4 separate regions of the Homo sapiens genome follow, and regions 2, 3 and 4 are each linked to region 1. The links are contacts of gene promoters, found by promoter capture Hi-C in blood cells and fetal thymus (Javierre and others, 2016). All regions are on one chromosome and are shown on one strand. The core of a region is centred on a gene start or on the middle of the fragment in contact, and the rest is flanking DNA. Distances in the headings are between cores, read along the strand shown. Region 1 holds the start of PGM3 (phosphoglucomutase 3). Region 2 has its middle 66 kb from the start of LINC02542. Region 3 overlaps CEP162 (centrosomal protein 162). Region 4 overlaps IBTK (inhibitor of Bruton tyrosine kinase).

What was found. Contacts are between HindIII fragments. The CHiCAGO score rates a contact against its expected background, and 5 or more counts as called.
Region 2: a contact is called between a fragment that was not itself captured here and the fragment with the promoter of PGM3 in region 1, in 3 of 17 cell types (M2 macrophages, non-activated CD4 T cells and total CD8 T cells). The highest score is 10.5, in M2 macrophages.
Region 3: a fragment that was not itself captured here is called in contact with the fragment with the promoter of PGM3 in region 1 in 3 of 17 cell types (total B cells, total CD4 T cells and naive CD8 T cells); the score reaches 6.6 in total B cells.
Region 4: a contact is called between a fragment that was not itself captured here and the fragment with the promoter of PGM3 in region 1, in 6 of 17 cell types (M2 macrophages, fetal thymus, naive CD4 T cells and 3 more). The highest score is 8.0, in M2 macrophages.

The regions. Positions count from the first base shown.
Region 1 is chr6:83,191,525-83,194,869 of GRCh38, forward strand. PGM3 (phosphoglucomutase 3) reads right to left here and starts at 1,741. Exons shown (of 13, transcript NM_015599.3): 1 at 1,655-1,741. RWDD2A (RWD domain containing 2A) reads left to right here and starts at 1,833. Exons shown (of 3, transcript NM_033411.5): 1 at 1,833-1,919; 2 at 2,788-3,128. The coding sequence starts at 2,928. RefSeq lists silencers at 1,392-1,461, 1,762-2,131 and an enhancer at 1,704-2,203. The HindIII fragment of the contact is 15,181 bases long and covers 1-3,345 here.
Region 2 is chr6:82,165,897-82,169,241 of GRCh38, forward strand. No RefSeq gene overlaps it. Among named protein-coding and RNA genes, the nearest start is that of LINC02542, 66 kb to the left of the region's middle. The HindIII fragment of the contact is 1,874 bases long and covers 811-2,684 here.
Region 3 is chr6:84,211,787-84,215,131 of GRCh38, forward strand. CEP162 (centrosomal protein 162) reads right to left here. Exons shown (of 27, transcript NM_014895.4): 6 at 1,171-1,238. Among named protein-coding and RNA genes, the nearest start is that of CEP162, 14 kb to the right of the region's middle. The HindIII fragment of the contact is 3,592 bases long and covers 1-3,345 here.
Region 4 is chr6:82,184,491-82,187,835 of GRCh38, forward strand. All of the region lies in intron 25 of IBTK (inhibitor of Bruton tyrosine kinase), which reads right to left. Among named protein-coding and RNA genes, the nearest start is that of IBTK, 62 kb to the right of the region's middle. The HindIII fragment of the contact is 209 bases long and covers 1,625-1,833 here.

The DNA of each region.
Region 1 (3,345 bases), core at 491-2,990:
CTACAGAGACATATTCTTAAAGGAAAAGCAAAAGGCAACAGTTTCTTCTCCAAGACTACCCAGATCTTTTTCCATTTGCTAAAAACAATCAGGACACCCTTCTAAGATGTTGCTCTAAAACTAGCAATATCTTCTTCTGAAAGAATGCCACCTTTTTCCTTTACTTTTAAAAATAAAACATCGGCCGGGAGCGGTGGCTCACGCCAGTAATCTTAGCACTTTGAGAGGCCAAGGCAGGCGGATCACCTGAGGTCAGGAGTTTGAAACCAGCCTGGCCAACATGGCGAAACCGCCTCTCTATTAAAAATACAAAAAAATTAGTCGGGCGTGTTAGCTGGCGCCTGTAATCCCAGCTACTCGGGAGGCAGAGGTTGCAGTGAGCCGAGATCGCGCCACTGCACTCCAGCCTGGGTGACAAAGGGAGACTCGGTCTCAAAAAAAAAAAAAAAAAAAAAAAACAGGCCAGGTGAGGTGGCTCAGGCCTGTAATCCCGGCATTTTGGGAGGCCAAGGCGGGCGGATCACGAGGTCAGGAATTCAAGACCAGCCTGACCAACATGGTGAGACCCTTGTCTCTACTAAAAATACAAAAAGTAGCCTGGCGTGGTGGTGCGCGCCTGTAGTCCCAGCTACTCAGGAGGCTGACGCAGGAGAATCGCTTGAACCCGCGGGTGGAGGTCGCAGTGAGCCGAGATCGCGCCACTGCACTCCAGGCTGGGCGACAGGGTGAGACTCCGTCTCAAAACAAACAACAACAAAAAATCGGCCCTTAGCCCACTAATACTGTTTTCTCTGGGATACTCCCATTAAGTGGAACTTGGGGTTTCCAACCTCAGTCAGTAGTTTTCCTTCAGTAGTCCATATACTACATTTCCTGGGTCAATTAATTCCCAATTAGCCCAGAGATGAGGAGCAGTCCGCCAGCTGCTAGCCTCATAATTTTGTTTTCTTTATTGTCCTTCATTGCTTCAATGAACAGAACTTGCAAGAAATGGTGAAAAATACTTGCTTTTGTCCAGTTGGAAAAAGCTGGCATTCAGTAAACTAATTTAGTTCAAGACAGTGATCAGATCTCTTTCCTAAGGATGAATACATATTTGTAAAAACTGAGCAGTCAGTTATGTGTCATGATTATTCATAAGAGTGTAAACCAGTCCTGTTAACTCCAAAAAGCCATTAAAAAAAAAAAGGTCCAGATAATATGAGTTCATCCTTTCATGCGTTTTAGGCCCTACAACTACTTTCAATGCCTCTGCGAATGCCTTTATTGAAAGCATATTTGCCAAATCCAGCGTCCACGCAAAAAGTTAAGAGTATCCCCCTACTCTCCATTCAATCTTCAAATCTCCTTGGTGCCTCTCTCCCGCCTACCCTCGAATCACCGCACAAGGGTGATTCCCGGCACTCCACCCTGAGGTCCCCGCCTAGGTCCACGTACCAGAGCCCCGGCAGGAGACCCGCGGCCCGTCCCGACCAGCCCGCCCGCGGGGCGCAGGGGCCTGTAGGTGTGTCCCGCGCGCTCCGCCGCTCGGTCAGTCGCCCGCCAGACCACTAGCCCCTCCGTCGGGCCGAGAATCTGACCTGTCCCGCTCCCACCGAGCCCTTGCCGACCGGTAGTCTCCCTTCTCAACTCCGAGCCTCGGGGCCCGGCTTACCTCGGTCAGGAAGCCCCCTTCACCTACACGCAGCGGAGAAGCGCCCAAGCAACAACGTCTGCACCCAAACCCAGTCCTCAGAACCGCAGACGTGGCCCTGCGTGGCTTCCGGCTCGTCGCCACGCCCCCTGGCCAATCACGGCAGAGGACTATCCGCCAGCCCCGCCCCCGCCTCGCCGCAGGTCGCGCGCAGCTGGCGCCTGAGGAACTGCGGCTGCGGTTCCGAGCGGGGTCTGGGGCTGTTACCATTGAGTGACCAGAAAGGGTGAGGCCCCCGCGGTGGCCCGGGGGTTGGGGCCGAGGGTCGCGGGCCCTCAGAGCACTGCGGCCGCGGAGGCACAGCCTCCGCCTCCAAATCCGGGCCTCTGGGGGCGGCAGGCCCTGCGTTCCTGGGAAGCCGGGGTTCCTAGTGGTCTTGGCTAGGGGCGGGGGTGGGGAATCAGCCCCGTCGCTGGGCCTCGGACAGGGCGACCTCGCCCACAGTGAGCGCCGCCGGCGGCCCGCATCCCCCTCTCCGACGTCGAGGTCATCTCCCAAACCTTTGAATCTGGGAAGCCTTCTCCGGCTGCCGTCTCCCCGGGTACCCCCTTCCCCCAGCTCACTGTAAACATCTTTTATTTAATGACCTCTGAGACACCCCCTACCCTTATCCTGGGTCCCTCGGGGCAGAGGCCAGTGAATCGTAAACGTCCGGAGCCCTGGAATGCGGCCCAAGCGAAAAGGCCACCGCGGTGTTGGGGGGGGGCGGTCCGCGAGTCCAGGACCGAGGGGTGGCGACTGGCGCTGGGGAACTCGGAGCCCATCCTGCTGGCACTGCGGCCTCTCTCGCCGCAGCGTCTGGCTCCGCCCAAGCCCGAGCCCCGGGTGGGATTGGAAGCCGGGCCCCAGCCTTTCCCAGAATTCAGGCTTGCAGAGCGTCTGCAGGTGTCTGCCTGCCACCTGCAGCGGGACAGTTCCAAACACCTGTTGAAAGTGCAGATTCCCCTATCTAGTGCGGGGTGCGGGAGGCGGGAACCCGGAGCCCGGGTACGCAGAATATGGGTTTTTACGGAGTGTTTTAGAGGATGTTGTGCATACTAGATTTTGGAGTCAGGAAATAAAGAAGAGTGCAAGTGTCTGGTTTGTGCCCCTAGCTCTCGGTGCAAAGCGTTCCTGCAGAATTGCTTCCACGTAAAGGGACCTTCGGGAAATTTCGCTGGATACCGGCTGGCATTGACAAACCCAGCGTCCCTGAGCCTTGTGAGGTTTCCAGGCAGGCTGATTGCGAGGCAACATGTCTGCTTCGGTGAAAGAAAGCCTTCAGCTTCAGCTACTGGAGATGGAAATGCTGTTTTCTATGTTTCCTAACCAAGGAGAAGTAAAACTTGAAGATGTAAATGCCCTGACGAATATAAAGAGGTATTTGGAAGGCACAAGGGAGGCGCTGCCACCAAAAATCGAATTTGTAATTACACTCCAGATTGAAGAGCCCAAGGTAGGTACCCTGATTTAAGTGTTTGCCAGGTGCCCAGTTTTTAATTGAAACATCTAGAACATGAGCTTTCTGTCAAGGAAAGATAGAAATATTCCAGGTGCATATTTCCTTGTTTGAAAGATACGGAATGCTCTATAAATTGTCTTCAGTAAATATCTTTAATTTTATGTAAACATATACACCTTTTTAACAAATATACCTGGAGTTTTTATTGACG
Region 2 (3,345 bases), core at 498-2,997, 1.0 Mb before region 1:
CAGTCTCTTTCTATATGCATTGACTCCTCTCTGCCTTCTAGATGCACAGACCTCCTTTTTCAAAAATATATATAAAACAAATACACCGTCTATTTAAAAGTTACCATCTATGTCTCTCATAAATCTGTTCACTGCCAAATTTCTAGGTAAAATATCCTTGAACCAAAACCTCTACATTCGGCCAGGCGCGGTGGCTCACCCTGTAATCCCAGCGCTTTGGGAGGCTGAGGCAGGCGGATCACTTGAGGCCAGGAGTTCGAGACCAGCCTGGTCAACATGGTGAAACCCCGTCTCTACTGAAAAAAAAAAAAAAATACAAAAAATTAACCACGCGTGCTGGCACATGCTTGTAATCCCAGCTACTTGGGAGGCTGAGGCAGGAGAATCCTTGAACCCAGGAGGCAAAGGTTGCAGTGAGCTGAGATCGCACCACTGCACTCCAGCCTGGGCGACAAGAGCGAAACTCCGTCTCAAAAAACAAACAAAATCTCTACATTCTATTACTTCTCTCCATTACTTAGATCATCTTTCAGAGTCCAAGCAGGAAACAGACAGCACTTTCAACTTGGGAGAATTATTATTAAATTATTTATAAAAGTCTGGGTAGGATGTAGGAAAACCACAATGGATACTGCAGTTAGTTGGGCTAGATACAATGCAAGATCCTTTGCCATTCTTAGGCCTGAGGGTGTGGGAAAGCAACATCCCCAGAAGCTGGAGAGATTGTCATACGGAGAGAGCTGCCCGACAGGAGCTGTGACCTTCCCGATTGTGGCTCATAACAACATCATGAGAGAGGGCAGAAAAAAAAGCTTCATTCTCTTTCTCCTGCCAACACGCCAATATTCTGCTGGTGCTCCAAATGGTTATCAAGCCTGTGCATATCTTTCTCTTACGGCTCAAAATACCTACTTTAGTACACATCAGAATCACTTGGAGGGTGATAACTGGATGTCAGAGGGAAAATAAGCTGGTTGGTAAAGTCCTAGAGATTAATTTCACAAGATATAGTAGAGAACAAAGGATGGATCTGCAAATAAGCAATATCCCTTACCATATGGTCCATCTCTTTTGTTCCTCAGATTCTTATCCTTTATTTAGGTAGACACATTTATGTCCTCAACACAGGAAACATACAATCATACAAAGTCCTACAAGCTACTATTTCATAAGATTGATGTCAATTTAGTCATATTCTTCTCCTGTACACATGGAACATTCTCCAAGACAGCACATATACTAGACTATAAAAGATATTTCAACAAACTTAAAAGGACTGAAACAATACAAAATAAGTTCTCCAAATTTAACAAAATTAAATTAGCAATCAATAACAAACACATATTTGGTAAGAATTCCCAAATACTTGAAAATTAAACAATATACTTTTAAGTAATCCATAGTTCAAAGAAGAAATCAAGATGAAATTTAAAAATATTTTGAACTGAATGAAAATAAAAACATGACATATACAAATTTATGAGATGCAGCTAAAGCAGTGCTTAGAGGGAAATCTATAGGTCTACATGCCTGTATTTGAGAAAAAGAGAACTCTCTAAGCCTGAATGTATAGAAAAGAACAGCAAATTAAAGCTAAAGGAAGCAGAAAATAATAATAAAGAGAACAGAACCAAAGAAAAAGAAAAGAGAGCAGAGAAAAATCAATGAACCCCAAGCTGGTTCTTTGACTTCAATAACTTCTTTGACAACTTCAATGTTGACTGATATGGTTAAAGAAAAAAAAGAGAGAGAGAGAAAATAAAGATTACCAAAATTACAAAAGTAGGGAGGAACTTGACCACCAAACCTTATGAAATTAAAAGGACTGTAAGGCACTACTATGAACAAACTAGACAACTAAGATGAACCAGATAAATTCCTAGAAAGAACAAATTATTGAAACTGAATAAAGAACATATAGAAAATCTCAACAGGCCTGTAATATGTAAAGAAATAGAAAAAATAATAATAATTTAAAATCTTCCCACAAAGAAAATCCCACACCTGGATGATTCCACTAGTTAATTCTATCAAATATTTAAATAAGAAATAATACCAATCATTTATGAACACTTCCATAAAAGTGAATCCTTCCCAATTCACTCTATAAGGCTGCTATTACAGTGATACCAGAGTAAAAGATAGGAAAAAAAAAGGAAAAGAAAAAGAAAACCACAGACCGATATCTCTCATGAATACAGATGCAAAAGTCTTCATTGAAATGTTAGCAAATCAAATCCAGGACCTCTTTCTGAAGTGCTGTCATGGTCCACTTCTTGACTTACTGGTAAATTACTTAGCTAAATATTTTTGTCTTGTGCACTTACCTCTTTATGTTATGGTTCAAGATTTTAAAAGATTTAAACATACACATATACAAGAAAGAAAAGAATGCCTAGTCTATGTTCTCAAAGTACAAGTAATTTAGTAAAAGACTAGATTAATAGAAAAACAAAAGTAATGGCAGAATATGACAAGTACCCTGAAAGGTATAGGGTTACAAGGAAATGAGAACATAGCTGATCCATGTATGCTACTGTTTTTATGTTACTTTATGTTTGAGGGTGTATGGAGGGAAACCAGAAAAACTATAAAGGAAAGAGAATTTTGATTGCCTTAATTATGGATAGGTAGAATTTTATCTGAAGAAAAAGAAAAATTTAGGTAGAGATCAGCATGAGCAAAGCTTGAACCATATTTGGGAGAAACATCAGGTCAAGTTTGGCTCCACCACTATATGTACAATTTTTTTTTGAGATGGGGTCTCACTCTGTCACCCAGGCTGGAGCACAGTGGCATGATGTTGGTTCACTGCAACCTCCGCCTCCCTGACTCAGGTGATCCTCCTACCTCAGCCTCCTAAGTAGCTGGGATTACAGGCGCCCACTACCACATTTGGCTAATTTTTGTATTTTTAGTAAAGACGGGGTTTCACCATGTTGGTCAGCCTGGTCTTGAACTCCTGGCCTCAAGTGATCCACCAGCATCGCCCTCCCAGAGTACTGGAATTATAGCATGAGCACCACGCCCGGCCAGCTTTCTTCAATTTATAAAATGAAGAGAATATACATTAAAATTAATCAATAAGGCTTCAGATCTAAAATTTTATGAAAGAGCTATTTACACCTTATCATGAACAAATATATACACCCTGGCCTCCAAAACAGTTAAAGGGAATCAACCCAGACATAACTAGCAATGCTTTCTCAAATGACTGGATATTGCTCCTATATAAAGCTAGGTTTTCTTAAATTTATTTTAAAAACCATCTCTTTAGGACTTGAAGAAGAGTCCTGAATCCCAATATTTTGTCAACAAATTTGACTTTACCTGATTAGCAGTCTT
Region 3 (3,345 bases), core at 458-2,957, 1.0 Mb after region 1:
TTTTTTATTTTGATGGAAACTATAAATCCATAGATCAATGATGCTCAACCAACTCTGAACAGAATAAATATAAGAAAAGCATACCATGATACACCATAGTCAAATTGCCAAAAAAAAAAAAGGATAAAACCTTGAAAATAGAGAAAAAAAATACATGATATATACAAAATCACAATAATAGGAATTACCGGAAACTTCTCATGAGAAATAAGGTCAAAAGACAATAGAATAAAATCATTAAACTGCCCGAAGGAAAAAAAAACACTACATAAAATTCTGTATCAAGTAAAAGTATTCCTCAAAAACAAAGGCAGAGTATATTTTCAGACAAACAAAAGCTGAGAGAACTTGTTCCTAGCAGTAACCTGCACTACAAGAAATGTGAAAGGAGGCTCTTCGTGGTGAAGAAAAATAATTTGAGATAAATTCAAATCTACACAATGGAATACAAAGCACTGGGAATGGTAAATATATGGATAAATACACATTTTTACATAAATATCTATTATATTCCTTAAAAGTACTTTTAAATGATAATTGATTGCTTTAACAACAATAATAATAATGCACTGTGGTGTTTTTAAGACATGTAGAAGAAAAACGTTGACAAAAATAGCAAAATGGTTGAGGAGAGTTTATTGTTGTTAGAGTTCATATAAATACAGTGATATAACATTATTTGAAAGTAGATTGTGATAAGGTAGACATATATTGTGACTCATAGGGCAACTAAGAAAAAAATACAACAAAGAAGAATAGCTAAAAAGCCAAAATAAGAATAAAATGGAATACTATAAGTAATACAATAGAAGGAAGGACAAAAGCAACAAAAACAAGAAGATGAAAAGAAAACAAATGGCAAAACCGTAAACAACTATATCAATAAATACACTGCTGTAAAGGGTAAAAACACATCAATTAAAAGGCAGAGACTGTCAGATTGAACAAAAATGCTAAAACCAGCTATATGCAGTCTATGAAAAAAACCTTTTTAAGGCAGTTCACTTTCAACAATTTCTTAGCAGCTCAGTTTATAACACAGGCAAACCCACTCTATTCAAAGCTCTGAGACAATATGATTTTCCTTTTAATTATTTTTCTTATTAATGTCTTTATTAAAAGCTATATTATCTTTTCAAATATTATAAATTTAAGAACCAATGAAATTACCTGCCAGTTCTTCATGTTTCGATTCATTCTCATGTTCGTCATCAGTTAGTTCTGCGTTGGCTTGATTACTGGAAAAAATATTTATTTAATTTAGCATTACATGTTAAAAACATATTCTCATGCAACTCTTTCTGTATACCGTTTTAAAAAATCCCTAAAATTATACATGTCCTCTCTCAAGTCCTTTTGTTCTATCAAAAGCTAAAAATTTGGGAACTTTAAGGAAAACGTTTTGAAAATAAAGCATCTTCGAAGCATTTGATTAATTGCAGTTTAAAAGTAATACAAAGGAAAAAGATGCCCTATTTCTTAAATATACACAATTTTATTACTATGTGCATTTACATGTACAAATATTATCTTACAACCCTAGATATCCCTTCTACACTAAAGATTAGAAACTGACCACAAGCTATGAGAACCAGTGAAGTCCATATGAAAGCCAGAAAAAAAATGCTAAGGTCAGCACTTACATGCTAATAAGCAATTTAATCCTGAAACAGAAGCTGAATAGGAGCCTTAAAACAAAACCTAAGCAAGGGGACAAAGGAGCTTGAGTATGATTTAATTATATTGGATGTATTAGTTCATATACTGCTTTCTCTCAAACCAAGAATCAGTTCTACCTTTTCAGTCTATCAACCCTATTTAGTGAGATCGTTAGAGAAACTATAAGACTATATAATAATGATGAGAGCTACAAACACCTAATATTGCATGTTCAATGCTATTCTGTACTTTGACCGGCCTGTTCTACAGCAGAAATATCAATAGATAAGAATACTGTTAAGAAATAAGAAAAAAGTTAAAAAATGTAGCAAAGTGGCAAAAAGTTGTGGCCCACAAACCCGCGCATGCTTAATCTGTATTGACAACGTTGGGAGAGGCAATGACCATAGGCCCTGAGTGTCCCTGCACATTCTTGCTGAATATGCCAAGAGTACAAGATGCTGATCATTTTTCACCATGCCATTTGGGTAACATTTCCGACCAAACAAAGAGCAGGCTTGTTTCCACTTACTATAAAAGTAATACATTTTCGCTGGGCGCGGTGGCTCATGCCTGTAATCCCAGCACTTTGGGAGGCTGAGACAGGTGGATCACAAGGTCAGGAGATCGAGACCATCCTGGCTAACACAGTGAAACCCCTTCTCTACTAAAAAATACAAAAAATTAGCCAGGCGTGGTGGCAGGCGCCTGTAGTCCCAGCTACTCGGGAGGCTGAGGCAGGAGAATGGTGTGATCCCGGGAGGTGGAGCTTGCAGTGAGCCAAGATCGTGCCACTGCACTCCAGCCTGGGCGACAGAGCGAGACTCCGTCTCAAAAAAAAGTAATACATTTTCCAAGCTCAGTGTTCCTCTTCTGTAACACAGCCCATTGTGTGTGAATACATCCATTATGGATCCTTTGACTTGCCCTCAGCATAATCATAGGGCATGGGGAACCAATGCGAACAAATGCGACACTCAGGTACTGCCTTTGTTCTTTAATTCTGATCCAGGAATCTTCTGTCTATTGTCAACATCATAAAACCGGAAGGCTAGCTTGTTAGCTTGCCAAGTAGGGTAAAAATCTCAGACCCCGCAAAGTTCATGAAGGTAAATGCATTTCTTTATCCACTGTCTATAAAAAACTAACCATCCTGCAGAGCCTAGGCACTCTAATAATCAGAGATTATGATTCTCCTGACCCTTAATTATACCTTTGTGATCTCAAAATCCTAAATAAAATTATGATCTTCTTTCCATTCATAATTTTAAGAATTACATGGATAACTAAATAAGGGCATTAAAGACCTCAGGTTTCAAAGGTCTTGAGAATGGCAATGGTCTAGTGTAATAAAGAGAGGACCAGTTCAGTGAACTAGTGGGATTTCTAGAATAAATGAGGTTTCCCGATAACCATCAGGGCCAACCATACAGAGGTTAAGACACAGATCAAACTTGTCTTTGCTCCTTGGTTCCCACTTCCCTTTCTGTTATTTTTTTTCCTGAGTTTATAATGGTAACCTGGACTCTCTTTATTTGTCTGTGGAAAATGAATTAATAAATGACTTTCCTAGTAAGGACTTCTTGGCAATGTACTATTAGTCTCAATAGCATGAAATTTCAGATTGTGGAGGCAGCATGGGCTCTCAAATACCAAGAAACATATTCTACTCACACATAAGAAAAA
Region 4 (3,345 bases), core at 479-2,978, 1.0 Mb before region 1:
TTCTCCAAGTGAAACATTTAATTTTGAGAAGTAGCCAAATCCCATACATACTTAGTGTTTTCACATTAAATTTAAAATTTGCCTGGTTGGAACTTCAATCTAATGCAAAAACCCAGTTATCCCTAATACTTTCCATTGCCACACCTAACTGTCAGCAGCAGGAGTACAACTATAAACACTGGGAATTCTACAGACTAGGTGAATGAATGTGTGAACAAACTAGTGAAAATCCTACCACAACCTCAAGTATATTTAGAGTGCTAATTTGTGTTTTGCTAATGAATTGCACATTAACCTTAATATTAATGTAAACATATTTTTAAAAATCTTTTGAAGAAGTAAAATCTTATTAGATGATACTTCAGGTAATGATGTACCTTTAAGAAGGATTTTAAAAACCAGTTACATCGGCTGGGCGTGGTGGCTCACACCTGTAATCCCAGCACTTTGGGAGGCCAAGGTGGATGGATCATGACGAGGTCAGGAGTTCGAAACCAGCCTGGCCAACATGATGAAACCCCATCTCTACTAAAAATACAAAAATTAGCCAGGCATAGTGGTGTGCATCTGTAATCCCAGATACTCGGGAGGCTGAGGCAGGAGAAGTGCTTGAACCCAGGAGGCAGAGGCTGCAATGAGCCAAGATTGCGCCACGGCACTGCAGCCTGGGCGACAGAGCAAAACTCTGTCTCAGAAAAAAAAAAAAAAAAAAAAAACAGATAAATCATCACAGTCATGAATACATTCTATAAATAACAATCTGTAAATCTGATTAAAATGTTAACTTCAGCCAGGAACAGTGGCTCATGCCTGTAATCCCAACACTTTCGGAGGTGGAGACAAGAGGACTGCTGAGCCTAGGAGTTCAAGACCAGCTGGGGATATACAGACCCATCTCTACAACAAATAAAAAATTAGCTGAGCATGCTGATGCACACCTGTGATCCCAGCTACTCAGGAGGCTGAGGTGGAAGGATTGCTTCAGTCCAGGAGGTCAAGGATGCAGTGAGCCAAGATTGCACCACTGCACTCTGTCTCAAAAACAAAAAAAAAGTTCCAATTTTTTCTTTAAAACCAATGCATACGAGATATGTTCTCAGGAAAACAATCTATTCCATTTTTACTTCAAGCATATATTACAAGTATTTACATTCTATGTGTATCTGATTAAAAATCAAGTGATATACTGAATTATGTGGCTATCTCATAATTTTATAATCACATGAAAAATTATATCATATTATATTCACTCAATAATTAATGTTTTATCCAGAGTTCAGGTTAAAATACTTTGCAGCCTTCTAAGAATTCAAGAAAGAAAATTATTCAACAATTTAATAACAGTAATTTCAATTTATACTGAAGTGCTTTGCTTTGCTGTGCTTCATAGTTACTGTGTTTTTAAACAGGTTGAAGGTTTGTGGCAACCTTGCATGGAGCAAGTATATCGTGCCATTTTTCTAACAATACATGCTCACTTTGTGTCTCTGTGTCATATTTTGGTATTTCTCCTGGTATTTCAAACTTTTTCATTATTATTATATCTGTTACGGTGATCTTGATCTTTGATGTTACTATTATAATTGTTTTGGAGCACCATGAACCACATCCATACAAGTTGGCAAGCTTAATTGATAAATGTTTGTTTTCTGACTGTTACACCAATTGGCAGTTCTCCCATCTCTCTCCCTCTCCTCCTTAGGCCTCCCTATTTCCTAAGAAACAACAATATTGAAATTAGACCAACTAATAACCCTACAGTGGCCTCTAAGTGTTCAAGTGAAAGAAAAAGTCACATGTCTCTCACTTTAAATCAAAAGCTAGAAATAATTAAGCTTAGTGACGAAAGCACCACCCTGATCAGTCAGCAGTCATCAACATCAAGGCAAGATACTCCACCATAAAAAGATGATTCACTGAAGGTTCAGATGACCATTAGCATTTTTTAGCAATAAAATAGTTTTACATTAAGGTTTTTTTTTGTAGATATTATGCTATTGCACACTTAGCAAACTACGTATAGTATAAACATTACTTTTACAGGCACCAGGAAACCAAAAATTTCTTGTGACTTGCTTTATTGCGATGTTTGCTTTACTAAGGTAGTCTGGAACCGAACCTGCAGTATCTCCAAAGTATGCCTGTATAGTCTTAAAAAGAGCATAAATTACTAATTGTAGACAATTCAGATACCTCTCACCTTGATGATAATAATTCAGAATATCTATAATTCTCAAAAATTCAGATTACCCATAACATCTATAATTATCTAAATTATCTATAATTGGTCAGTTAGATAAATTTTCTTAGTGTACTAAGATACATAAAACTCATTACTCATGTTTGTACTTAAGTTTTCCAATCATGTTTTCATAAAATAAATGTATAACAAATATCACTTGTATTTGATAATTATCAAATTCTTTTTTTTTTTTTTTTTTTTGAGAAGGATTTTTGCTCTGTTGCCCAGGCTGGAGTGTGGTGGCATGATCTCAACTCACTGCAACCTCTGCCTCCCAGGTTCAAGTGATTCTCCTGCCTCAGCCTCCCAAGTAGCTGGGATTACAGGCATGCAACACCATGCTCAGCTAATTTTTGTATTTTTAGTAGAGACGGGGTTTTTCCATGTTGGCCAGGCTGGTCTCAAACTCCTGACCTCAGGTGATCTGCCTGCCTTGGCCTCCCAAAGTGCTTGAATTACAGGCATGAGCCATCATGCCCAGCCAGATAATTATCAAATTCTTTTCAAAGAAAAATAACCTATGTTTTTGGTCAAAATTTATGGCATCTTTCTTCCCATCTTTCTAGAATTCTCCTTAATATGCCATAATAGACTCTTAAAATTTGGATAGATAGTCCCTTCAATGTGGCACTCTAAGCTCATGTTGCTATTACCAAGGAAAAATTTTTCCTATGTTTGAAAATTAGTCAGAAGTTTCAGATAAATGACCACTTGAATACCTTCCTCTGAAATCCTAAAGTGTACAGCAAAGTAATCAGAAAGGTATAAACCCACAAGGGCAAAAATAATAAGCTATTAAGACAATGGCAGTCTAAAAACAGCAACACATTTTTGAAGGATAGCAAAAGAGATGGAATGATAAAAACTGATGTCGCCGAGTGGACAAAAAGAAATACTAGCAGTCATCAGGTGGGTGACAGTAAAGAGGGAAGCTGAGAACTCTGGAAAGGGGCATATACTGGAGACAGAGTATGTATCAAATCCTGAAGTCGACATGAGCATGAAAATTGTTTCAGTTTATTTAAGGAGGGGCTGAAAGTGCCAGATGTACTCCCTATCTCCATATGGTCATATTACTACATCTCCTTTACTCTGGCAGAAGG